6 separate regions of the Homo sapiens genome follow, and all the other regions are linked to region 1. The links are contacts of gene promoters, found by promoter capture Hi-C in blood cells and fetal thymus (Javierre and others, 2016). All regions are on one chromosome and are shown on one strand. Each heading gives the region's core, a stretch centred on a gene start or on the middle of the fragment in contact. The rest is flanking DNA. Distances are from core to core; before and after follow the strand shown.

Evidence for each region. The method cuts DNA at HindIII sites, captures the fragments that hold promoters and counts their contacts. A CHiCAGO score of 5 or more calls a contact.
Region 2: a fragment that was not itself captured here is called in contact with the fragment with the promoter of GABRQ in region 1 in 1 of 17 cell types (endothelial precursors); the score reaches 6.8 in endothelial precursors.
Region 3: a contact is called between a fragment that was not itself captured here and the fragment with the promoter of GABRQ in region 1, in 3 of 17 cell types (endothelial precursors, megakaryocytes and M2 macrophages). The highest score is 9.0, in endothelial precursors.
Region 4: a fragment that was not itself captured here is called in contact with the fragment with the promoter of GABRQ in region 1 in 1 of 17 cell types (endothelial precursors); the score reaches 12.7 in endothelial precursors.
Region 5: a contact is called between a fragment that was not itself captured here and the fragment with the promoter of GABRQ in region 1, in 1 of 17 cell types (megakaryocytes). The highest score is 6.3, in megakaryocytes.
Region 6: a contact is called between the fragment with the promoter of GABRE here and the fragment with the promoter of GABRQ in region 1, in 1 of 17 cell types (endothelial precursors). The highest score is 6.7, in endothelial precursors.

Annotation. Positions count from the first base shown.
Region 1 is chrX:152,635,865-152,639,725 of GRCh38, reverse strand. It overlaps GABRQ (gamma-aminobutyric acid type A receptor subunit theta), which reads right to left and starts at 1,831. Exons shown (of 9, transcript NM_018558.4): 1 at 1,375-1,831. The coding sequence starts at 1,523. It overlaps MAGEA3-DT (MAGEA3 divergent transcript), which reads left to right. Exons shown (of 5, transcript XR_938525.3): 3 at 1-122; 4 at 3,739-3,844. The HindIII fragment of the contact is 4,664 bases long and covers 1-2,842 here.
Region 2 is chrX:151,685,758-151,689,618 of GRCh38, reverse strand. No RefSeq gene overlaps it. Among named protein-coding and RNA genes, the nearest start is that of PRRG3, 7.8 kb to the left of the region's middle. The HindIII fragment of the contact is 7,812 bases long and covers 1-3,861 here.
Region 3 is chrX:151,770,342-151,774,202 of GRCh38, reverse strand. No RefSeq gene overlaps it. Among named protein-coding and RNA genes, the nearest start is that of CNGA2, 38 kb to the right of the region's middle. The HindIII fragment of the contact is 6,140 bases long and covers 1-3,861 here.
Region 4 is chrX:151,789,157-151,793,017 of GRCh38, reverse strand. No RefSeq gene overlaps it. Among named protein-coding and RNA genes, the nearest start is that of CNGA2, 56 kb to the right of the region's middle. The HindIII fragment of the contact is 247 bases long and covers 1,645-1,891 here.
Region 5 is chrX:151,842,898-151,846,758 of GRCh38, reverse strand. No RefSeq gene overlaps it. Among named protein-coding and RNA genes, the nearest start is that of MAGEA4-AS1, 66 kb to the left of the region's middle. The HindIII fragment of the contact is 1,323 bases long and covers 1,063-2,385 here.
Region 6 is chrX:151,973,024-151,976,884 of GRCh38, reverse strand. GABRE (gamma-aminobutyric acid type A receptor subunit epsilon) reads left to right here and starts at 2,209. Exons shown (of 9, transcript NM_004961.4): 1 at 2,209-2,315. The coding sequence starts at 2,260. The HindIII fragment of the contact is 4,903 bases long and covers 1-3,270 here.

The DNA.
Region 1 (3,861 bases), core at 582-3,081:
AACCAAACCATTTCAGATTCTTGGGGCTCAGAGCTCTCATCGGAAAGACATCTATTCTGGGAGCAGGTATATCTCTTGCTGAGCATGTGCTTCCACCCTGGAGGTGTCTTGGGTGAGCATAGGTAAGTGGACTCAGCCCAGCTCTGTGGAGAGCTGGCTTTTCCAGAGATCTCTGACACGCTCACCCAATTCACCTAGACCTTCAACAGGGCTCCTTCCCCAACAGGGCTTGCGAATCAGAACAGGCCCCGGCATCACTGTGACTCTTCAAATCTTTGACGCATTGCCCAGGGAACGTCAGCCCCTGCAAATGTGTGTGTTTGTGTGTGTGTGTGTGTGTGTGTGTGCGCACGCGCATGTGTGCATGTTCAGTGGCGCAGTATGGTATGTTGGGTTAAGGGCACTGCAGGGCTGTCTGCTGGAACCTTGCCAAACACCCCCCCCCCCTTTATGAGTACATGTTAATTTCTGGCTTGCCATTTAAACATTGTTAAAAATTATTCCTAATCATCTTTAATCAAAAATTTCATTTTGCAGCATCCCAAAATGTGCACATGAATTATTCCCAAATTAAAGCAATGCATTCCCACCTGTTTCCAAGCACACATTACCCATGTGCCAACGCTCAGGATCTGTGGCCACCCCAAATACACATTTCTGTGTGATTTACATGTAAAGGCTTCAGATACTCGCACACCCAAACAAACTTAAAATCAAAAAGAGAAAAAAACCGGAGTCTTCAAATATTTTCACACGACTAAGTACAAAAGCACACCCATCCCAGACCACACGGTTCGTGTTTATTCAGACACGATCGCACTGTCTGGGCTCCGATGGGTTTGAGTTAATCATTTCTATCTGCCGCATTGGAAAGAGTCCCTCATCCCCTCAACACATGCATGCACGCGCGCGCGCCTCAGGAAATGGACTAAAATGTAGACTCAAACAGGTGTCTCTCCTGTCTATGTTTTGTGAATTGCCCGTCATCCTGTACCCTCCTCCCCAATCCCACAGGTGCCAAAGCTGGGGAAAGCTGCCGGGAACCTTAAATCCTTGGGGATGGATGGACAGATCCTGGGACGAGGGCGACCCCCGCCCCCACCCCTCGGGCTGCGGTTTAGGCACACGCAGGGCTCAGTCAAGCTCCGCAGTAACAGGTGGGCGGAAGCACAGGGCTCCATTTCAACACCCCACTCCCACCTTACCCCTTCTAGGGGCCAACAGGCAGGGCCCGGGCGCCAGGGCTCAGCGAGCCCGGGTCCGAGTACCCCCCAGCCCGAGTCGCCCCCAGCCCGCTCCGTCCAAGAGGCCAGAGGTCGTCTGCCCGTCTCCATTCCCGTCCCCGCCGTGCCTAGCCTGGCGGTGCCCGCTTACCAGTTGAAGAGGTTCAGGACGACTTCGGGCACAGCAGAGGAGAACTCGAAGTGGAATTTCGGGATGGGACTGGGGTAGTTGCCCTCCGCGAGCCAGGTCCTGATGAGCAGCAGGATCACTGCGGCTCGCAGCATGCCTCGGATGCCCATGGCCGGGGCGTTCTGGGCGCCTGAGGGCGCGGGAGACGGGGCCGCGAAAAGGAACAGAGGTGGGGTGGGAGAGTGGGTGACTACTGGGGCCGGGGAAGGCGGGATTGCTGGCCCTTCCCCAAAGAGTCGCCTCTAAGGAGAGAGCAGCGAGGGCAAGGGAAGTAGGGGGTGCGGGGGTCGGCCCGGATACCGGAGATGAGAGCCCGGGAGGAGCAACCACCCAGCAGCTCTGCTGGACGCAGCTCCCCCCAGGGCCCGCCCGGCAGCTGCGAGGTGCGCTCCGTCTGCGGCCGCTCCTGGCTGCGACTGGGCACAGATCCCAGCTCGCTGCTGGCTCCGCCCACTCCGACGGCATCGCAGGCCCAGCCAATCGGACAGCTGCCAGGAGCCGCACAAAAAGGCGCGCGCTCCTGCCTCCGCCCGTAGCCTGCGCGCCGCCCGGCCCCCGCCCCTTCAGGCTTCTGCAGTCATCCCCCGGCCATCTCCAGACACAGGCAGGGCGGGGCCGGGCTGGGGGAGGGGGAGGAGGGCTGGCTCCTTGGGGGCTGGGCCAGGAATCCGCCTCAAGGGGCACTGGGTCCTGTCTCTTCTCTGCAAAATGCGAAATGTGTGTTTTTCTTGGAAGAAAGGGCCTGTGCCCGAGAGTTGTATTTGATGGTGAAGGGAGTGTGGTAATTTGACCGCCATGGCTGAATCTGCATTCTGAAAGACTTGGACAATTTTGGGCGTCAGGAGGTACCCAACGGCTGGTGACTCCGTACCCTTGAGCCTCCAGTAACCCCGCGTGCCTTGTCTCTGGATAAGGTCAAGGAGGATCCTAATGGGTTTTGTTACAGGGCTCTGGCCACAGCAGGACTGCTCCTCCCTCAGGATGGACATTGGGCTACAGGAGCCCAAGAGTTGCTTAAGACTTAAATTTCCTAGAGTGCTCTTCACCCCAACTTTGGGTACTCAGGAAAAAGACTCAAGGAACTGGAAGGGCTCACCAACTGGGGTCTCTCTGAGATGTGGTTGTGTCTCATCAGCCAGGGGATGCAGAATGAAGGTTCATGGCTGACACCATAGAAGGGGAAAAAAAGGCCAAGGTCAGTGTTTGGGGTGTTCAAGGGAGTTAGGCACTGGAGACCAGGGTATGCCAATGTTCCTGGGTTCTGACCCCATCATATGGAAAAGCCTGACATCTTGACTAGAGGGCTCTTATTCTTTCCACTACCTCAGACTCTGCCCCTATGGGACAGAAAAATCGTGGAGGATAAGAAATGCCTCCACCCAATTTCCTATGTCCTTCCTATCCCATGACAAAGCAAGTTCAGAAAGCTTAGAAAGTGGCCTCACCAGAGCCCATAGGGCAAATGGGTAATCAACAAACAGAGCTGCCATGTTCACCGGCATGCCACCTCCCACATCACACCATTGAGAAGAGTTGAAATCAAAACGGATTTCAGGTTTACTTTTGGTTACCTAGAACATTCACTGAGAAACACAACATCTCCCCCTTTTTTTCCCCTCAGTATTTGATGAAATGAGTTGAGATTGCTGGTGCCCAGCAAAGCATGACTTACCTGGTAGGCCAAGCAGTTTTGCACAGCTGAGGGTTTAACTCTTTTACCACTCCCCCTTTAAAATCATTTTAGAACCATACTTTTATGAAAAATGTCTCTCATAGTTTCCTGCCTTCTTTTAATGAGCAGAACACCCTCACACCTTTCTTTCCCATCTCCCCTCTTTCCCTGGCCATTGCAGTAAGAAAAAAGGATGATGGGACCCATTTGTCAGGATCACATATGAGAGCAGATTAAACCCACCTCTACTGCTACCAGTCCTGTCCCATCACCTCTGGTCACACAGACGTCCTTGTAGAGAAAATCCTTGTTTGCCAAAAATGTTAGAGCCATTCCGGGGCATTTTGTCCAGCCACCTCGGTTGTAATGTAGGGAAACTGAAGCCCAGAGAAGAAAAAGGGATTGGCCCAAGGTCACACAGTAGCAGAGGCCAAAACTAAAAACCACATTTCCAGGTCTGCTTACTTCGAGAAGAGTGCGTTTTCAGTCTAAGTCAGCTTTGACTGGAAGTTCTAGCAACCACCAGCAGGTGGGAGCAGATTTGTTTGAATGTGGGATGTTCCCAGCACTGAGGAATCAAATTCCACAGGCAATTGGTCTGGTCGCTCATTTGTTAGGGGAAACAAGCCTGAAGCCTGAAATTTTGTTCTTAGGTACCCTTGTGACTATGAAGATTGACAAAAAGTTGACGGCAACGATGAATTCTCTTCCAGAACTTACATCCCAGAAGGCCCTCCCCTACTTCGGGTCTCCCTAGAGGTAATGCTTCATTGAAA
Region 2 (3,861 bases), core at 629-3,128, 950 kb after region 1:
CAGATTTTCTGCTTGATTCTTTTAAATTATTTCAATCTCTTAAAGTCTATCTGGTAGGATTCCGAATTCCTTCTCTGTGTTATCTTGAATTTGAGTTTCCTCAAAACAGTTATTTTGAATTTTCAATCTGAAAAGTCACATATCTCTGTCCCTCTGGGATTGATCCCTGGTGCCTTATTTAGTTCATTTGGTGAAGTCATGTTTTCCTGGAAGGTCTTGATGCTTATGGATGTTAGTCAGTGTCTGGGCATTGAAGAGTTAAGTATTTATTCTAGTCTTTGCAATCTGGGCTTGTTTGTACCCACCCTTCTTGGGAAGGCTTTCCAGGTATTCAAAGGGATTTGGGTGTTATGATCTAAGTGTTTGGTTACTGCAGCCATATCTGCATCAGGGGGCACCTCAAGCCCAGTAACACTGTGGCTCTTTCAGACTTGTAAACGTACCACCTTGGTGGTCTTGGGTAAGATCCAAAAGAATTATCTGGATAACCAGGCAGAGACTCTTGTTTTCTTTCCTTAATTTCTCCCAAAGATATGAAGTCTCTCTCTCTCTTTCTCTCTCTCTCTCTCTCTGTGTGTGTGTGGGTGGGGGGGAGATATGTATCTGTGCTGAGCTGCCTGGAACTGGGGGAGAGATGACATAAGCACCCTTGTGACCACCACAATTGGGACTGCACTGGATCACACCTGAAGCCAGAATGGCACTGGTGCCTCACTCAAGGCTTGTGATAACCACTGTCTGTCTACTGCCTATGTTTGCTCAAAGCCCTAGGACTCTGCAATCAGCAGGTGGTGAAGCCAGCCAGGCTTGTATCCTTCCCTTCAGGGCAGCAAGTCCCCACTGTCCCAGGTGGGTCCAGAGATGCCATCAGAGAGCCAGGGCCTGGACTCAGAAACTTTAGGAATCTACCTGGTGCTCTATTCTACTGTGGATGAGCTGGCACCCAAGCCACAAGACAAAGTCCTTCCCATTCTTGCCTCCTCTTTCCCCAAGCAGAGGTCATGCCTTCCCCACGGCTACCACCACCCAAGGCCCACGACAAGTACAGTCTGGCTACCACTGATGTTCCTTCAAGGCCCAAGGGCTGTTTAATCATCTGATGTTGAATACTGCCAGGCCTGGGACTCTCCCTTCAGGGCAGTGGGCTCCCCTCTGGCTCAGGGCAGGTCCAGAAATGCTGTCCAACAACTAAGGCCTGAAATTGGTAATCTCATGAGCCTCCTTGGTGCTCTACCCCACTGTGGCTGAGTTGGTACATAAGCTGCAAAACAAAGTCCCCTTTACTCTTCCCTCTCCTTTTCTCAAGCAAAAGTAGTCCCTCCTCATAGTCACCACAGCTGGGGATGTTCTGGGTCACACCTGCAGCCAGCATGGTACTGTGTTTTGCCAAAGTTCTGTGGTGACTGCTGCCTGGCTGTTGTTGATGTTTATTCAAGGACCAAGGGCTATTTAGTCAGAAGCTGTTGAATTCTGCCAGGACTGGGTCCTTCCTTTCAGGGCAGTGGGTTCCCTTCTAGCCCAGGGTGGGTCTAGAAATGTTGTCCAGGAGCTATGGCCCACAGGGGCTTCAGGACTCTGCTTGGTACTTTAATTTGCTGTGGCTGAGCTGGTATACCAGTTTCAAGACAAAGTCCTCTTTACTCTTCCCTCTCCTCCTGGAGCTGCAAGCTGTGCTGCCTGAGGTTAGTGGAGGGATGACATAAGCACTCCTTAGGCCACATCAGCTGGCATCTCACTAGGTCATGTGCACTCCAAGTTCACTGATTCTGGGCCTGGTTCAGCACCAGGCCTTGCCCAGGAATTGCAGTCCTTGTGGCCTAGACTGCCTTTCAAGTTTATTTAGAACCCCAGAGCATCTTAGCCCAGAGTAGTGGGGCTTGCCAGAACTCAGGTTCTAACTGTTGGGATGGGTTATTCCCCTCTGGCTAGGGCTGGTCTAAATGCTCCTTACATAGGTGCCAGCTGAGCTGTGCCTGGTGTTGCTTTCCACTTGACAAGGCAGCACTGAGTTTCAATGTAAAATCTCACAATCACTGCACTCTCCCTCCACCAGGTTCAGAGATTCTTTCTCCATGCCAGACTATTGGCCACTGCCAGGGGATGGGAGAGAAGTGGCATTGGTGACTCAAGACTGTCTTTCCTACCCTCTTCAGTGCCTCTTTCAGTGATATCAAGTTAAAACTAGGAACAGTAATTACTCACCTGATTTTTGGTTCTTATCAAACCAGGAACTGTGATTGCTCACCTGATTTTCAGTTATTATGAAGGTGCTTCTTTTGTGTGGACAGTTGTTCAATTCAGTGTTCCTGCAGAGAGGACGATCAGTAGAGTTTTCTATTTGGCCATCTTGCTTTGCCTCTGGATTGCAGTTTTAAACTAGTTGGTCAGGGAAGGACTCACTGAGAAGTAACATTCGAGAAGCATTTAAAGGAATAAGGGTGATAGCTGCGTAGATAACTGGGAGAAGAGTATTCTTGTAAAAGGAAATGGTATGTGCAAAGGCCCTGGGACAAAAGTGTGGTTGGCATGTATGAGGCACAAGGAGTGGAGGGAAAGATTTCACACAGGCCAGAGGCAAGGCTCAACCACAGTCTGAGTCCAGTCTTGGCGGAGTGCCTGATGATCCTCCCAGGAATGTCAGAAGATGGGAAGTCCTGTGAGGAGCTGCCACAAGACCCTTTTCCACTCTCCTTTCTATTATGCAAGGCTACCATGAGGCAATTCTTCACCCACTTCCCTGGTTCTAGTGAGGGATGGGACTTTCCACCTAGCCCCCTGCTTTGATCTGAATATTTATGTCCCTCAGAAAATTCATATGTTGAAACCTGATTAACAATGTGATGTGATAGTACTAAGAGGTGGGACTTTAAGGGATGATCAGGCCATGAAAACAGAGCCATCCGAAGACAGCCCTCACCAGACACTGAATCTGCTGGTGCCTTGATCTTGGGTTTTCCAGCCCCCAGAACTGTGAGCAATAAATTTCTGCTGTGTATAAGTTACCCAGTCTAAGGTGTTTTGTTATAGCAGCCCAAATGGACTAAGACACCTCCCTCCCTACCTTAGAGTATAGTTTTTAGTATGTGGTATTGGCTCCTTAGCAACAGAGCACCCACCTCTTGTGTTGCCCATAATCTGATCTTTGGTTTGGCACTGTCCTGTGGAACTAGGGACACAGGAATCTGACAGAAGCTCAGTGTGTCTACATCAAATATCACCATAAAAGAGTGGTAGGAGATTAGCTCAGATGATTCGCCCTTAAATTTTCCATAGCTGGCTCCCTCTTGCCTTTTAGCTTTTTGCTCTAATGTCACAACCTCAAAGAAGCCTTCCCAGATATACTCTGCAAATAGCTCATCCCCTTCTACATTGTATCTCAGCTCCTGTTTTCTTTCCTCCAGAGCATTTGCCCTCTGACATTTTTCTGATTCACTCCTATTTCCTTGTGATCGGTCTGTCTTTCCCACCAGATTATTGGTCTCATGAGGTCAGGGACATTTCTGTCTTGTACATTTCTGTAACCTCAGCTCCCTCCTGCCTTTCTCATATCATTCCACACCATGTAGCATAGGAATTATACATGTATCTTTTTGTTCTGATTCTAAAAATAATATGTTCTCATGGTGGCAATTTTGAAAATGACCACTCACAATTCCACCAGCCAGAGAAAGCCATTATTAAAATGTTTACATATCACCTTCTTATTTTTCACTCTACAAATTCAATTTTACATCATTTAGTTCATACACTGTAAAAAGTTTTTTAATTTCCTTTGTTTTTTTAATCTAATTATACAATTCATAAAATATACATTATAAAATATTCAGGCAAAACACAAATACATGAAATAGAAAGTTAAAA
Region 3 (3,861 bases), core at 511-3,010, 870 kb after region 1:
ACCTGCCAACATTTGCCCTCCCTTTAGCAGCTGGCTGTGTAATTCAGGGGATAACTTTATTTGGCATCCCCGAGAGCCTATTACATCTAGGGGTTCTTTGCCATGACTGCTTGCTCTCTTGCCTCTCTTCTTGTTCTAAAGCAGTAAAGAAGAGAGGAGAAGAAATGTTGGAGGTCTTAGTAAATGTTCTGAAGTGGTCACTCCACTCAGCTAGCTTCTAAAACTTTAGACGGGTGTCCTATGTAAAGAGAACTCCGGTGCTCCAGAAGCAGCTTTGAGTCTGTCTCCCCGACATCTACTATGAAAGGCAGAACCTGATTGGCTCCATGACTCATACCCCACCCAGTTTGTTTTGTCTCAAATAATCCCACGGAAAGCCATTAAATCATCTGAACATTTATTGGTGGCCATTCTCTTATCCTTTGTCAACAGGAGACTTGGGAGTCCTTTAGGAAGACCCTGAAAACCCAGGTATGTGATCTTGGGTGTGGGGAGGCCCTGGTGGTAAAGGTGGTCGCGATGGCACTGGTAAGAATGGAGGGTTGGCTGCAGCCATACTTACTAAGGCCAATAGGGGGACCTCCGCCCTGTCCCTGGCCTGATGCCCTGCCCAGCCCCTTTGCCTGCTTGCTTTCTGCCTGCCTTCTTTTTAAATGCGGCCCAGCACAGTGCAGAACCCTGAAGCAGTAAGAGCTTTTCATGGTGATCATAAAGGCACCATTGTTATCATCTTCTTTCATTATTTATTTGGCCATGATAAAGGCAGCCCCATTAACACAGACTACGAATCTCACCTTTCCTCTGTCTACAGTTATCACTGTGCTTGCAGCTCAGGCTACAGATTAAATATCTATCATCACTATGATAAATGGCCTCTGCAGTAGGGGCAGAAATGCGAATCCACCTTCGAGCAGCTGGTGGCAGCTAATCCAGCCAGGGCATCCCAGTATAGGGACCCCAGCCATGGAGAAATCAGCTTTGCCTTTGTGGCGATGTGCCCAAGCTCACCTGTGGCTCATCAGTTCCACAGGTCAGCTCAGGAGAAAGGATGCCAGGGAAGTTTGTTGTTACCCTGGGCTAGCCAGTAGCTCTAGGAGAGCAACCTCCCACAACTCCTCTCTTGTTATCCCCATACCAAAATTGAGACCCCGACTACAAGAGACAAAAGACTGGGCTTGCAACCTGGGCGAGGCAATGGCTAGCAAATGAAAAATATGTGGTAAGGAGTTGTGGCTGACTCTAACCCAGACCCCTGTTAGGTGGAAGGGAGCAGCACAGAACCCTGTGGGAAGGGGGACTGACATGCAGGCTTCATATTTGTGCATTCCTCTAGTGTCCCTGGGAAACAAATCCATCTCTACCACAGTGGATGAATTTGCCAGTCGATTTGTGAGTGCGGGGGCTTATGCTGTGGCTCGACAGCTCCATCCCAAAGTGCCTGTTGTGGCTCTTCTGCTTCAGGAGGGACCCCAGGCTGCCTCCAAAATTTTTGCTGCTCTGAAAGAGAAGAGACAAACACAGGGTTCTGAAGCCTTTGGGACCTCATTCTTTTCCATACTAATTGGCAAGTTTATCTCTAAGGCTTTTGCAGCATTGTAATCTGGCTATTCTCACCTTTGGTGAATCACACCTCCTTGAGGGAGGGATCCTTGATGTTTCTGCTGCCTGTGGTGCCACCAAATGCCACTACAATTCTGGCAACAGGCAGGAAGGAGATGCAGCAAACACCACAGTCTGAATGATGCTTAGGCTATGGCTCAGTGCCAGGCACAATGTTGAGCATGGTTCCCTTGGGGCTTTACGACCTTCTCAGGCTGGGTCAGCTCTACTGAACATGACCTCCACCTCCAGGACAAGGGGCTAGTAGCAGAGGGACAGCACTCTGCAAAAGGCTTCTCTGCTTCCAGTGTGCATCTTAATGAATGCATACCTCAGGAATCATCTGTGGCTGCAGGAAGCCCTCGAACCCTGAAGCCCCTTGTTGATAGGGCCTGGGTCTTCTTCAGTTCTTAGGAATGGCTTGTCAGTGAATGAATGAGTGAATGAATGACCAACTTAAAAAGTAAATGAGCAGGAGTGTAAGAAAAAGGCTTCTCAAACCCTGAGGTCTCCAGCTGCAGAATCCTTGACACCTGCTCCTCCAGTCACCTGGAAATGCTTCTTCGTACTCACAGCTAGAATGCCTTTGTGAAGTCCATTGTGTTATTGGGAGCAGGGAGCACAGAAGACACATTTTTATGTTGACAAAACCCACCCCTCAGGCAGCCAATTGTTTCCTCCAACTTGCATCCTGATGATTCATCTTAGGGTTTCCTTCTAGGGCCCAGGAGTTGGCAAGCTGTGGGTCCTCCTCCACAGGACAGACTTTCAGAGACCTCAAGAGGATGGCCATGCTCCACCAGGAATCCGCTCTTCTCCACGCTGAACAGTTCTTTCACATTTTTCTCCTCTCCATCCATCTAGTAGTTTTTTTCTGCATATGCCAGGTTTTACCCAGCCCAGTTCAAGTGTGGGGCCCAAAACTGAGCTCAAGTCTGTGAATATTGTCTGATCAGAGGGGAGTCATTATTTCCTTCATTCTACACTGTACAGCCAACTACTGTGGCAGCTAGTTCTGTGGTCACATTGCACTGTAGGCCCCTTTGGAACTTTATGGTTAACCAAACGAGGTATTTCTCTTCTGAGTTTCTTCAGGGCCTGAGTTCTTTAATCAGGGTCATACAATTTATTTTTAAAACATAATGACTTTTTAAATGACTCTTTCAGAAGTCATCGTGTTGAGTTGGGCTAGGGTGTTATAGCTAGTTCCATCCTTTTCTCCAAACCTTGGAGCATTGGCAAGTTTGGCACAACTGCCTTATACGCCTGTACCTGAATCACTTCTGTAAATGTGAGAATGATCAAGATCAAGATCAGAGTTCTGAGACATGTCACATTAGACCTGTATGCCACGTTGAACACCAACTTTTTTTTCCAACTTTTATTTTAAGTTCAAGGGTACATGTGCAGGATGTGCAGGTTTGTTACATAGGTAAATGTTTGCCATGGTGGTTTGCCGCACAGATCATCTCGTTACCCAGGCATTTAGCCCAGCTTCCATTAGCTATTCTTCCTGATGCTTTCCCTCCCCCCACCCCTCCCCACCCTCTGACAGGCCTCAGTGTGTGTCCATGTGTTCTCATCATTCAGCTTTCACTTATAAGTGGCACCACACATTATTTGGTTTTCTGTTCCTGTGTTAGTTTGCTGAGGATGATGGCCTCCAGCTCCATCCATGTCCCTGCAAAAGACATGATAGAGTTTCTTTTTATGGCTGCATAGTATTCCATGGTGTATATGTACCACATTTTCTTTATCCAGTCTATTATTTATGGGCATTTCAGTTGATACCATGTCTTTGCTATTGCAAATAGTGCTACAATGAATATACGCATGCATGTATCTTTATAATAGAATGATTTATATTCCTTTAGGTATATACCCAGTAATGGGGTTACTGGGTCAAATGGTATTTCTGCCTCTAGATCTTTGAGGAATCACCACACTGTCTTCCACAATGGTTGAACTAATTTACACTCCCACCAACAGTGTAGAAGCATTCCTTTTTCTCCACAACCTCACCAGTAGTTGTTGTTTTTTGACTTTTTAGTAATAGCTATTCTGACTGGTGTGACATGGTACCTCATTGTGGGTTTTATTAGCATTTCTCTAATGTTCAGTGATGTTTAGCTTTTTTACAGGTTTGTTGGCCACAAGTATATCTTCTTTTGAGAAGTGTCTGTTCATGACCTTTGTCCACTTTTTAATGGTTTTTTTTTTGTTGTAAATTTAAGTTCCTTATAGATGCTGTATATTAGACCT
Region 4 (3,861 bases), core at 519-3,018, 850 kb after region 1:
TTTCGAACCTGTTCCAGATGAGGATTTGGGCAAGCTCTGTTGAGGGATCAGGGCTGAGTCAGCCTTGGTCCCTGTTTGCCAACAGCTCCCCCAGGGCACTTGCACATACCTAAGTCTGCCACCAAACAGAAGACAAGTAAAGCGGGGAGCACAAAAAGGGAAAGTTATTCCAACTGTGAGGCACATATCAGCGCGGCCATCTTGGAAGAAGTGGCATTAGACTGGGCTTTGAAGAATGAGTAGGTGATGAATGTGTGAGGTCTGGGGGGAGTTGTCAGAGGGATGAAAAGAAAAGCTTGAGCAAAGGCACAGTAGCAGGGAGGGGCATGAGTTTGGGGAGCAGCAAGTCAATCCATGCGACTAAAGAAAAGGTTTCACTAGTGAGGGATGGAGGTAGCAGGTGAACCTGGAAAGATAGACTGGGACCAGCTCAGAGAGTCTCAAGGTGGATGAAGGTCTTGAGCTTTGTTCTATAGCCAGTGCCTTCCAACTGCGTTGGCCTGGCCTGGCCTCAAACAGTTTTCTGAGCAATGTAGGTGTCAGAAAATAAAAGTTTATTTGATTGATGAGATATACTCCATAGTTGGAACTTCAAGCTAGCTTGTTCCCACCAGAGCAGAATTGACTGTAGCCAACAGGAATGGTTGACCATGTCCTCTGCAGCTCAGGAAAGCAGTTCTCTATGCAGGTCTCTCCAGGACCCTAGGAAGACTAGGCTCTACCTGAGCCAGACACAGCTCTCTGCTAGAGAATTGGAGGCCCCATGAGCACTATGGAGAGAGCCTACTGATTCCTATGTTCCTCAGTTTGCCTTAAATGTTTTTTTCCTCGTTTGTGGCTTTCTTCCCCACTGTCTGGCCCACCTGTCTCCTGGTCATTCCTGAAATCTGGTACTCTATGTTCACTTTAACGCCTTGATGACCTAGCTAGCCTTCGATCTTTGCCAATTTGTCAACCATTTCTGACCTATTCCTTAGTTTGCCCCACATGCACCTCCCTCCAAAACACATAAGCAACCAAATCCCTGACAATATGCAGAGGTGGGCTTAGCTGTGTGAGTGCAGATTCTTCCATCTTGCCAATATTGGGGAGCCATTCTGTCTGGGTAGGTCAGCCCTTTACAAACCTGACAATGACTAATCTGCCAAGTAGCTGCTTCACTGTTGAAAGATTCATAGCTTTGTTCAGAAAAGGTCAGATTCATTGGTTCTAGTCAATTAGAGGATAATTTATTGTGTCTCTTCCTTCTGTGACCTCCAAGACCATACGTAGTTTATCAGCAAGGGGCCAATCTCCAAGGCAAAGTCAGGCACACTGATAATCCCCCAAAAGGCAGAAATGGGGCCAGTGAGCTACCTGAGGTTCTCTGGATTGGAAGTCTCAGCTGGGTCTTGTTTCCCACAAATCCCCATCACAAGGACGTTAAGTGGGCACCTTGTCCATCAAACAGATTTAGAATTGCCAGTATTGTACAAATGTGAGATTGTGTGGGCAGACTCTAAGAAGATGGCTATTTCCTCTCTAGTATCATCCCACAGTTAGGACGGCCACCGAGTAGTAGGTATCAGAGCCTTGGTTATGTCTTTCTGGTACAAACAGTGGGACTTTGTTGGGGAATGGCTAAATAAATGAGATTAATAAGCTTTACTACTAAATTTTAACCTAACAAGGAAAGCACTTTACTAATATGGCGAAGCAACAAGATAAACTAGAATGGCTATTTAAATGTGATACAAAACTAAAGCAAGATTTAGGGAAACACAAGCCCCTAAGAACTTTGAAGAAAAAAAAAAAACACTTACTTGATAAGCCTAAATTCATTAATTCTAGTACTTTCCCTCTCTTTCTCTTACTTAATCCACTGGTTTCTATGCCAGGTTTATACTAAGCTTCCTTCAAATTTTTGACTGTCTGCTATCTCAAGCAAAGAATCTAAGAAAGAAGAATGACTTGGCCGTATTTCCTTTGACACCACTCTCCCCTGGTCATGAGCTGCAACGTTGAAGGAATCATTCTTGTGGCTCTTTTCTAATAGCCATCTTCTGAAGTCATTAATCAGAGCTGTCATTTTCTCCTCATTATAGTGCTCCTGACTTTGTTTCCAAGGAATCTGAAAGAAGCCAAAAGAGAAATAAAGATAGCCATGTATGGGCTACTTTCCAGCATGAAACCCTGTGATTGTTTTTTCTTCAGTTAAGAGGGATTAAATGTTCCTTCTTTAAAACTAAGTCCCTTGCCCTCTAAGCCAGAGTGTATGGTATTCATAATATATGTTGGATGATCCCTTAGAAATTACCACTCCCTAAACTTTTTTTCTGTTAGGATTTGGACTTGGGAAACTGAATAATGCCAGAATGGAATGTTTAAAAGAATATTCCAAGACCATAATTAGATTTCTAAACAAGCATACATAAATGTTTTTCCACATGTGCTGTGAAATCAGACCCAGCGTCAGAGTCCTCCACTGTAGCTCTACTCTAGTTCCTTGTAGGAAATGCCCAACTGTGGCTTTTTCCATGGGGCAGGAATAGGGTTCCAGGGACATGAGAGTTGCTTCATCTACAGCCTCTGAGATGGGAAAGACTCATTTAAGTCTGATTGGAAGATAGGCATCCATTGTGGTTTATAAAATTTTTTTAGATAAAAACTAGGAAGAAGGCTTTGGAGACAAGAAATTGTCACTCTGGGAAATGGGAGAGTTCAAAGAAATAGGAAAAGTGTGATGAGCTTTTCCATCCGGGATAGTAGAGAAATTCTGAGGCATGGGATTATGGGCACTATCACAAAGGAAGTTAAGGAAAAGTGAGGAGATGAAAACCAGACAAAAAGGGTTGTATAGGAGGCCTTTGAAAGATTCCAGAATATCTCCCAGAAGTCCTCAGTACAAAAAGCCTGTTACTTCTTTAGGACAGGAGAAATGAAATTGGGAGCCAGGAAGACTCACATGTCATTGTCCAAACGAAGGAGAGGAGCACAAAAGGGAAAGAGGAGTGGAGTGCAAGCTGACAATGGCCATAGAGCCAATGGAAAGGAAGTGAGGGGAGTTCTGGGAAGAAGGCCAGTCACAAGGACACACCTGGAGAGTTTCACAGAACCCAGAGGTCCCTATTAGCCCTTTGTCCATCTCTGTCTATAGACTTATCTGAGACCCTGTGAGTCCTTGCAATCACACCTGCCATTTCTACCATGACCAGTCTGGGACTCAGCTTCCAACAGGGCCTCTGCCCACTTTGGACTGGCGTGGATTTTCCTAAAATGCCTATCTCTGCCCCACTCTTTCCCCTAATCAGCCTCTGTCTGGCCAGACATCTACACCTAGAAACCTAGATCTTCAGCCCAGTCCCAGAGAAGCCTGTATTCCATTTCAGCCCCTATCCTGCATCCCTGCTGCTAACTTTGCCGTTTGGGGTTTCTTGCCTGCCTCAGCCACTCATCTAGCTTCTGGTCTTAGCTGATCCACTCTGAGGAACCTTGCAGGTGAGTCCTCTTCCACACTACATGACCAACCATCTCAGGAATGACTCTGAATGCCCAGAAGTTTGGTATCTGCTAGCATTCCTTCTTTCATCGCTCTCTGTTTCCAGCCTTCCACTGCTACCTCTCCTGGTCAAGTCTAAGCAGAGACTGCCTGGTCCCAGAATCTCAGTGTGTCACTCCTGGCCTGTGGTTTGGCCTTGGCTGTTAGCTCTGTGACTCATGGCAATGACCGCTGGCTGAACCCCCTCACTGATTATTCGCAGCAATTGGAGCAGGCCTCCAGTTCCTGGAGGCCTTCCCTTGTATAGGTCCCAGCCCAAACATCGGTGTGCAGACCACTGTCTTCCCCTTGGATGTTCTTCCCGTTTTCCAGTCGGCCCATAT
Region 5 (3,861 bases), core at 475-2,974, 790 kb after region 1:
GTTTTTGGCTCTTGTGAATAAAATTGCTATTAACATTTATGTGGGCATATGTTTTGATTCACTATGGTAAATACCTACAAGTAAAATTGCTATCTTGTATGATAAATGTATGCTAAATGTTATTGGACCATGGCAAACTGGTTTTCCAAAATGCCTGTGCAATTTACATTTTCACTCGTAATACATGAAAGTTCTAGTTAGTCCACATTCTCAACAGCACTTGGTGTGTTCTGTCTTGGTATTGTGTGTCTTATTATTTAAAACTTTATTAATTCTTTTGTCTGTTTAGTGGTATCTTGTTATTTTAATTTGCATTTCCCTAATGACTAATGACAATGAAAATCTTTTCAAGTACTTATAGATTATTCATATATCTTCTTTTGTGAAGTTTATTATTCAAATCTTTTGCCCATTTATAATTTATTTGTTTTTCTTCATATTACAGAATTTTAAGAGTTCTTTATAGACTCAACATACAGGTCCTGCATCAAATATATGATTTGTGAATATAACCCCTGACTCTGGCCTGTCCTTTTATTTTCTAAACATAAATGTCTTCTGAAAAGCAGAAGGTTTTAATTCCGGTGAAGTACAAATTATTGTTTTCGTATGGTTTAGGTTTTCTGTGTCTTAGTTAAGAAAGCTTTGCCTACTTAGTGTTAAAAAATTTTTCTCCTATGTTTCCTCAAAAGTTTCATGATTTCAGCTTTTATGTTTAGGTCTATTATCCACATCGAGTTAATATCTGTGACTTGCATGAGAAAAGAATCAAGATTTATTTTTGGATATCCAGTTGTTCTGACACCATTTCTTGAAAGAAAATATTTTCCCAATTGAGTTACATTGGCATCTTAGTCAAACATCAGCTTATCTATTTTTGAGTTCTCTATTCTGTTCCATTGATCTATGCATCTATCCTTTCACCAGTCCACAATAACTTGATTACTGTAGCTTTATGGTAAGTCTTAAAATTAGATGGTGTAAGTCCTCCAACTGTGTTCTTCTTGTTCAAGATTAACATATTAAAAATCTTTTGAACATATATATATATGTGATTAAGCTTGTTAGATTTTATTAAAAAGGTTTTGCTAGAGTTTTAATTTCCCTTTTACTTTCTTCATCGACCCATTGGTTTCAAGAGCACGTTGTTTAATTTTCATCTATTTGTAAAGTTTCCAAAATTTCTCCTGTTATCAGTTTCTAGTTTTATACTATTGTGGTCAGAATAGATATTTGGGGCCAGACACAGTGGCTCAGGTCTGTGATCCCAGTGATATGGGAGGCCAAGGTGGAAGGATTGTTTGAGGCCAGGAGTTTGAGACCATCCTGGTCAACATAGTGAGACCCCATCTGTACAAATAATTTTAAAAATTAGCCAGGTGTGATGGCACATACCTGCAGTCCTCACTACTCGAGAATATCACTTGAGCCCAGGAATTCAAGGCTACTTTGAGTTATAATCATGCTAGGTGACAGAGCAAGACCCTCTTTCTAAAATAAAAAAGATACTTAAAATGATTTTGATCTTCTTAAGTTTATTAAGACTTGTTTTGTGGCCTAATATATTATCTTTCCTATAGAATGTTCCATGTGCAGTTGAGAAGATTGTATATAATGTAGCTGTTTGATGGCATGTTCTATAAATGTCTGTTAGGTCCATTTAATCTAGAGAGCAGTTTAAAGCTGATGTTTCTTTGTTAATTTTCTGTCTGAATGATCTGTCTGTTCCTGTAAGTGGGGTATTGAAGTCCTCTACTCTTATTGTATTGGATAGTCAATGTTTCTCTTCAGATCTATTAATACCTGCTTGATATATTTAGGTACTCCAATGTTGGGTGCATATGTGTTTATGATTGTTGTATTATCTTGCTGAATTGACCCCTTTATCTTTATATAATCTTTGTTTATTTTTACAGTTTTTGACTTGAAGTCTATTTTATCTGAGTATAGCTACTTCTGCTCTCTTTTGGTTTCCATTTGCATGGAATATATTTTCCATTCCTTTTCTTTCAGTCTTGAGTGTCCTTAACAGTGAAATGAGCATATAAACCAGAATATAGCTGGGGTTTTTTTTTGTTTGTTTGTTTGTTTGTTTTATCCATTCCAGCCATTCTGTGTCTTGAATTTACATTCAAGGTGATTATTAGTAGGTAAGGAATTATTGCTATCATTTTGTTATTTTTTTTTCTAGTTGTTTTGTAGATCTTTTCTTCCTCTCTTACTATCTACCTTTGTGGTTAAGTGAATTTCTTTAATAGTATATTTTGGGTTTTTGCATTTTATTTTTATTGTATCTATTATAACTTTTTGCTTTGTGGCTACACTAAGTGTTACAAAAATATCTCATGATATAACAGGTTATTTTAAGCTGGTAACAAGTAAGCTTTTATAGTCATAAAAAACTACATTTTAATGACACTCTCTACTTCACATTTTAAATTTTTGACAGCATCATTCACATCTTTTGTATTGCATATCCCTTAACAAATTGTTATAATTATCCTTATTGTTTTTAATAGTTTTGTTTTTAACCTTCATACTAAAGATTTGACTGATTTATACACCATCGTTACAGTATTAGAGTATTGTGAAGCTGACTGTACTTACTTTCACCAGTGAGTTTTATACTTTAAAATGCTTCAGTGTTAGTCATTACTGCCCTTTGCTTTCAGCCTGAAAACTGAAGAACTCTCTTTAGCATTTCTTTTAAGACAGATTTGGCGGTGATGAACTCCCTCAGCTTCTGTTTGTCTGGCAAAATATTTCTCTCTCCTTTAGTTCTGAAGGATAGCTTTGCTGGATAAAGTATTCTTGATTGGCAGGCCTTTTTCTTCCTTCAACACTTCATGTATATCATCCCACTCTCCTCTGGCTTATACAGTTTCTGCTGAAAAATATTGAGACTTGTTTTATGGCCGAGATTATGGTTTATTTTGGTTAATGCTCTGTGTAAATGTGAAAAATCTGTCAATAGTTGTTGGATAGTGTTCACAATTCTATATCCTTTCTGTCTGTGTACTTCTATCAGTTGCCGAATGAGACATATTAACATATTCAACTATATCTATTCTCCCTCCCCTTCTGTCAATTTTTGCTTCACATACTTTGAGGCTCTATTATTAGTTGTATTATATCTTGTTGATTAGTTGACAATGTTATTATAGGGAATGTACCTCTTTTTAATGAAAATTGTTCTTATTTTAAATCTAGTTTGTCTTATATCAGTATAGCCAGACCAGCATTTTTTTGTAGTAGTTGCGTGGCATATCTTTTGGGGCCCTCTTATATTCAGCCAGTTGGAGTCTTTACATTTAAGCTGTGTTTCTTGCAAATGGCCTATTGTCTTGTCTTTCATTTTCATCTACTCAATTTTTTTTACATTACATGCATGGAGTTTTTAGATTATTTACATTACAAGCATTGTTGATGTGAATATGTTTAAGTGTACCATCTTGTTATCTGTTTTCTATTTGTCCCATGTGTTCTTTCTTCACCTAAACCTTTTTTTTTTCTGCTATATTAGGCCATTCTTGCACTGCCATAAATAAATACCTGAGGCTGGGTAATTTATAAAGAAAATTGTTTTAATTGGCTCACAGTTCTGTAGGCTATACCTGCATGCCACCAACATCTGCTCAGCTTCTGGGGAGGCCTCAGGGAGCTTTTACTCATGGTAGGAGGCGAAGCAAGAGCAGACATGACACATGGCAAAAGCAGGAGCAAGCGGGGGAAAGATGCCATACACTTAAACAACCATATCTCACAAGAACACACTCAGCATTGTGAGGACAGCACCAAGCCATGAGGGACCTGCCCCCATGACCCCAACACCTCCCACAAGGCCCCACTTTCAACATTGGG
Region 6 (3,861 bases), core at 960-3,459, 660 kb after region 1:
CATAAAGTCGATGGCCTGACCTAGACAAGCATGTGGCAAATACTTGAAAAACTACAAAATAATAATAACATTCTGTAGCCTCCACAAATCCTCACAGCTATCCTGTGGATGAGCTATCCCTTCGATGAGGTTTATAAGGAAGATGGCAAAGTATGATTAATATCAACCTGTAAGAGAAAAGTGCCTGGGAATCTCTGATGAGGGAGCTGTAATCACTTGCTTCCTTTGTCTGCCTGGGATTCAGTCGCTCATTCAGCAAACGTAATTAATGCCTACTGGTCATTGGTCACTGTGCTCAACCCAGGGGAATACAGGTAAATCAGACAAACCTTCATTTCCCGGAGGTCCAATGTCAGTGGAGGAAGAGACATGCATACAGGACACTTCAAATCCCAGGCTGGCTACAGTAAGGGCAGACATGCTCCTTTCCATAGCAGTCTGGTGTTGGACAGGACGGCAGGCGGATGGACTGGCAGCCTTCTCTTCCTCATGGCCTCAGCAAAGCCGCGTGTTTGCCTGTTCCCTGCTCTGCGGCATTTCTGCCCAGGGCAAAACTGGCTATATAATTTGCAGGGCCCAGGAAAAAAGAAAAATGCAGGTCCACTTGTTCAAAAATTATTAAAAATTTCAGCAGCAAAGCATGAAAGAAAGTATGGGGCTCTTCCCGGTGTGTGTCGGGGGGCGGGGGTGAGGGGCTGTGCAAGCCTAAACATGTCCTGCAGTCTCTTCTGTCTTGCACCGTAGTCTGAAGGCAGCCCCAGGTCCTAGTGGACTAACTCAGTGGTAGTAGGACACACACAGCTGCACACAAATCAGTGACACATTTGGTTGAGTGCCTATTGTGTACCCAGAGCTCTGCTAAGTCTTAGGGATACAGTGGAGACCCCAACAGACACATTTTGTGTGTATGCATGTGTGTGTTTGTCCCTGAGCTTACTTCAGTAGGAGAGACCCACTGTAAACAAGCTCATAAAAAATGCCCAAGATAATCATCAATGAGTGAGCAGTGTTGTGAAGAGGACAAAGCAGAGTGATGTGCTTGGGAGGTGGGGTGGTGAAGAGGGTGTTGTAGGTGAGTGTGGTAGAGCTAAGCCTCTTCAAGGATGCACACAGCCCCTTCTGGAGCAACAGGTGAGGATGCTGCCAGCGTCTGGCATCAGCTTGGTACACAAATCTTTGCCATTCCTTCTCCTTCTGAAGCAAATCAGAAGGGTCTAGGGAAAGAAGATGAAGTCCAAGTATGCTTGAGACTCTTGACGTGTCTCCCCTGAAGTGGGGCACTGCCCCTTCCCCTTCCCCCTCTGTGCCTTCTCGTGTCTTCTTCTGCTATCACCTGGTGCCAAGTCTCCAGAAAGATTCGGCCATCCAGTCTCAAGGAGGTTTCCAAAGCCTCCTCTATTCCAGTTGGTCCCTCTCACACTCAGCTTCTGGGGCCAAAGCGGGAGCCACATTGTGGCAGTGCCCCCTTGGGGTTCAGAGAAAATTCTCCAGTGAATGTCTCCGCCTGGTCCTCTGTTGGCGGGTCCTCCCTGCCCCCAAATACCTGGGAATTTGCCCTGTGGAATACCTCACATCAGAGCTTGCTGGGGAGACCCCTGTCTCTCTTCTTCTCGGTGCCAAGGAAGGTGCTGAGTTACCCGGCTTCCTTCATACGACAAGACTTGTATTCCGAAGGACTGAAGATTGTGGGCTGAGAGCTGGGAAAACCAGAGAGGGAGGTTGAAGCCAGGACACTTGGGGAAGCAATGGGGTGCAACAGGTGGCGGGGAGGAAGCCACGGCTGGAGAGCACAGTTTGACCCCGCGGCGTGCCAGCGGGCAGGAGGGGGTCGCCTCTGGGGCGTGAGCACATCCAGCCCCACATCTTGTCCCTGAAGCAGCTCCCTGCCGGCCACAGCCTGGGGCGCGAGTTTCCCCCGCCCAGGCCCCGCGCCGCGGGCTCGCCGCCTCCTCCCTCCGCCTCCCCCGCCCCTGGCTGTCTGGCAGCGCCGCAGTGGCGGCGTGGGGACGGGGGGCCTCAGCAACCGGGCTCCCGCCTCCTTCCCGCGCCCGCGCGAGCCTCCCCGGCTCCCCACCGCAGCAGCCGTCACGTCGTCGGAGATTTCCATCGGGGCGGGCCTGGGGCGGGGAGCGCGGGACGGGGCGGGGCGAGTGGGAGGAGTGAAAGTTGGAGCCCAGCAAAAGCCTCCGCCCCGCGCTCAGTGCGGCCAGAGCGTGAGCCGCGACCTCCGCGCAGGTGGTCGCGCCGGTCTCCGCGGAAATGTTGTCCAAAGTTCTTCCAGTCCTCCTAGGCATCTTATTGATCCTCCAGTCGAGGTGAGTCTCCATCCCGGGACCCGGGAGCCCTTCGCGCCCAGCTCCCTCTCCCCGGGAGCCGGGACGGCTCCCGGGACCCCAGCGGCCCCGCGTTCCTCGAGCCCCGCGCCCGCTTTGCCCCGGCCCTACCGCGGGCTGGCCGAGTCCCGCGTCCCCTCGATGCGCGCCGGCCTCGGCCCGCCTCACTGTAGGATGGGCTCCCGGGGTCCTTGAGGGGGAGCTCCAAAAGGAAGACAGGACGCCAGAAGGAAGACGGGACTCCAGTTCGCGGATTCCCGCTCTCAGAAGCACTGCGGTGGCCTGGTGACAAGCACTCCTCGGAGTCTTGCGCAGGAACAGGGGAGCGGCCCCGGGGTGACCGGCCAGGGCAGGCTTCAGCTACTGGGGGGGCCGGAGGTGCATTTTGAGAAGGGGGTGCGCGGGCTGAGGGAGCTTAGCTGCGCCAAAAATGTGTGAGTGTTGCCTCGTGTGTTCTCTGCTGCTCACATTTTTTTTAAGAGTGCCTACTGAGTTCCAGGCACTGCGCCAGGCAACTCTGACATTACTTGCTTCCCATGCCGCTGCTCCTGTTGGTGCCAGTCTCAGGCACGAGCTTTGGTTTAGTCTAAGGGTTCCCGCACCAGCTATGCCCCCTCTCCACCGCTGACAGCCTCCCACTTCCTTAACTCATCCCTAGACACCCTGCTGGGCCTTGGGCAGACTGGAGCCAGAGGCCAGGAATATTATTCTCCTCTGAAGTCTGTGGTTTGGGCCGTAGATTTCAATCCCCTTCTCCCCTTTCAGGTTTCCCTTGAACAACCATCTTCCCTCACACCTTCTCCTCGCCCTGAGACTTGGCTAGGAGGGTCGTGCCCTGGATTTGTGGCTTTTTGGGGTGGAAGATGACTGCTTCGTTTTGTTGTTGTTGTTTTGAGATGGTTCCTGCTGTGTGTGAAGTGTCACAAATTTGCAAGCTTCCTGATCTGTGGAGCTTTCTCGAAGATTCCATGGCACTGGGCTTGTGTCTTGTTTGTCTGTTCTGGGGAGGGAGGGTGGCTTCTCTCCCTACCCCAGATTGCGTTAGCTCATCAGAGAAGGGGATGTGTAGCTGCTTGCTGGCTCACTGGTGCCCTGGAGTGGGGCTAGCCTCAGCAGGAGCTTGATAAATGTCTTTCTATGCGTGCTAGCAATTTCCAGTCATCCACATCCCTCAAAATGGGATGTGGACTAGTTGAGAAAGCTGACGTGGTGACTGGCTAGGGCAAAAGATGGCTCTGGGGTGGGGGAAATAAGAAGGGGTGGTCAGAGAGGAAAACAGCAGGGAAAAGGGACTGGGGAAATGGAAACTGCCCTTCAAGCATAGCAACCTGTGGTGTCAGGAAAGAGCTGAGGAGGTGACAATGGGGTGTACTGGGCCACACTGAACCAGAAGACCTCTCCCTGGTCCAGGCTTAGCCTCAAATTAGTTGTGTGACTTGGGGCACAGTCCTTCCTCTATCTGGGCCTCAGTTTGTCCATCTGTAGAATGAAAAAAAAGATCTGATTTAGAAAAAAATCCAACATCTTT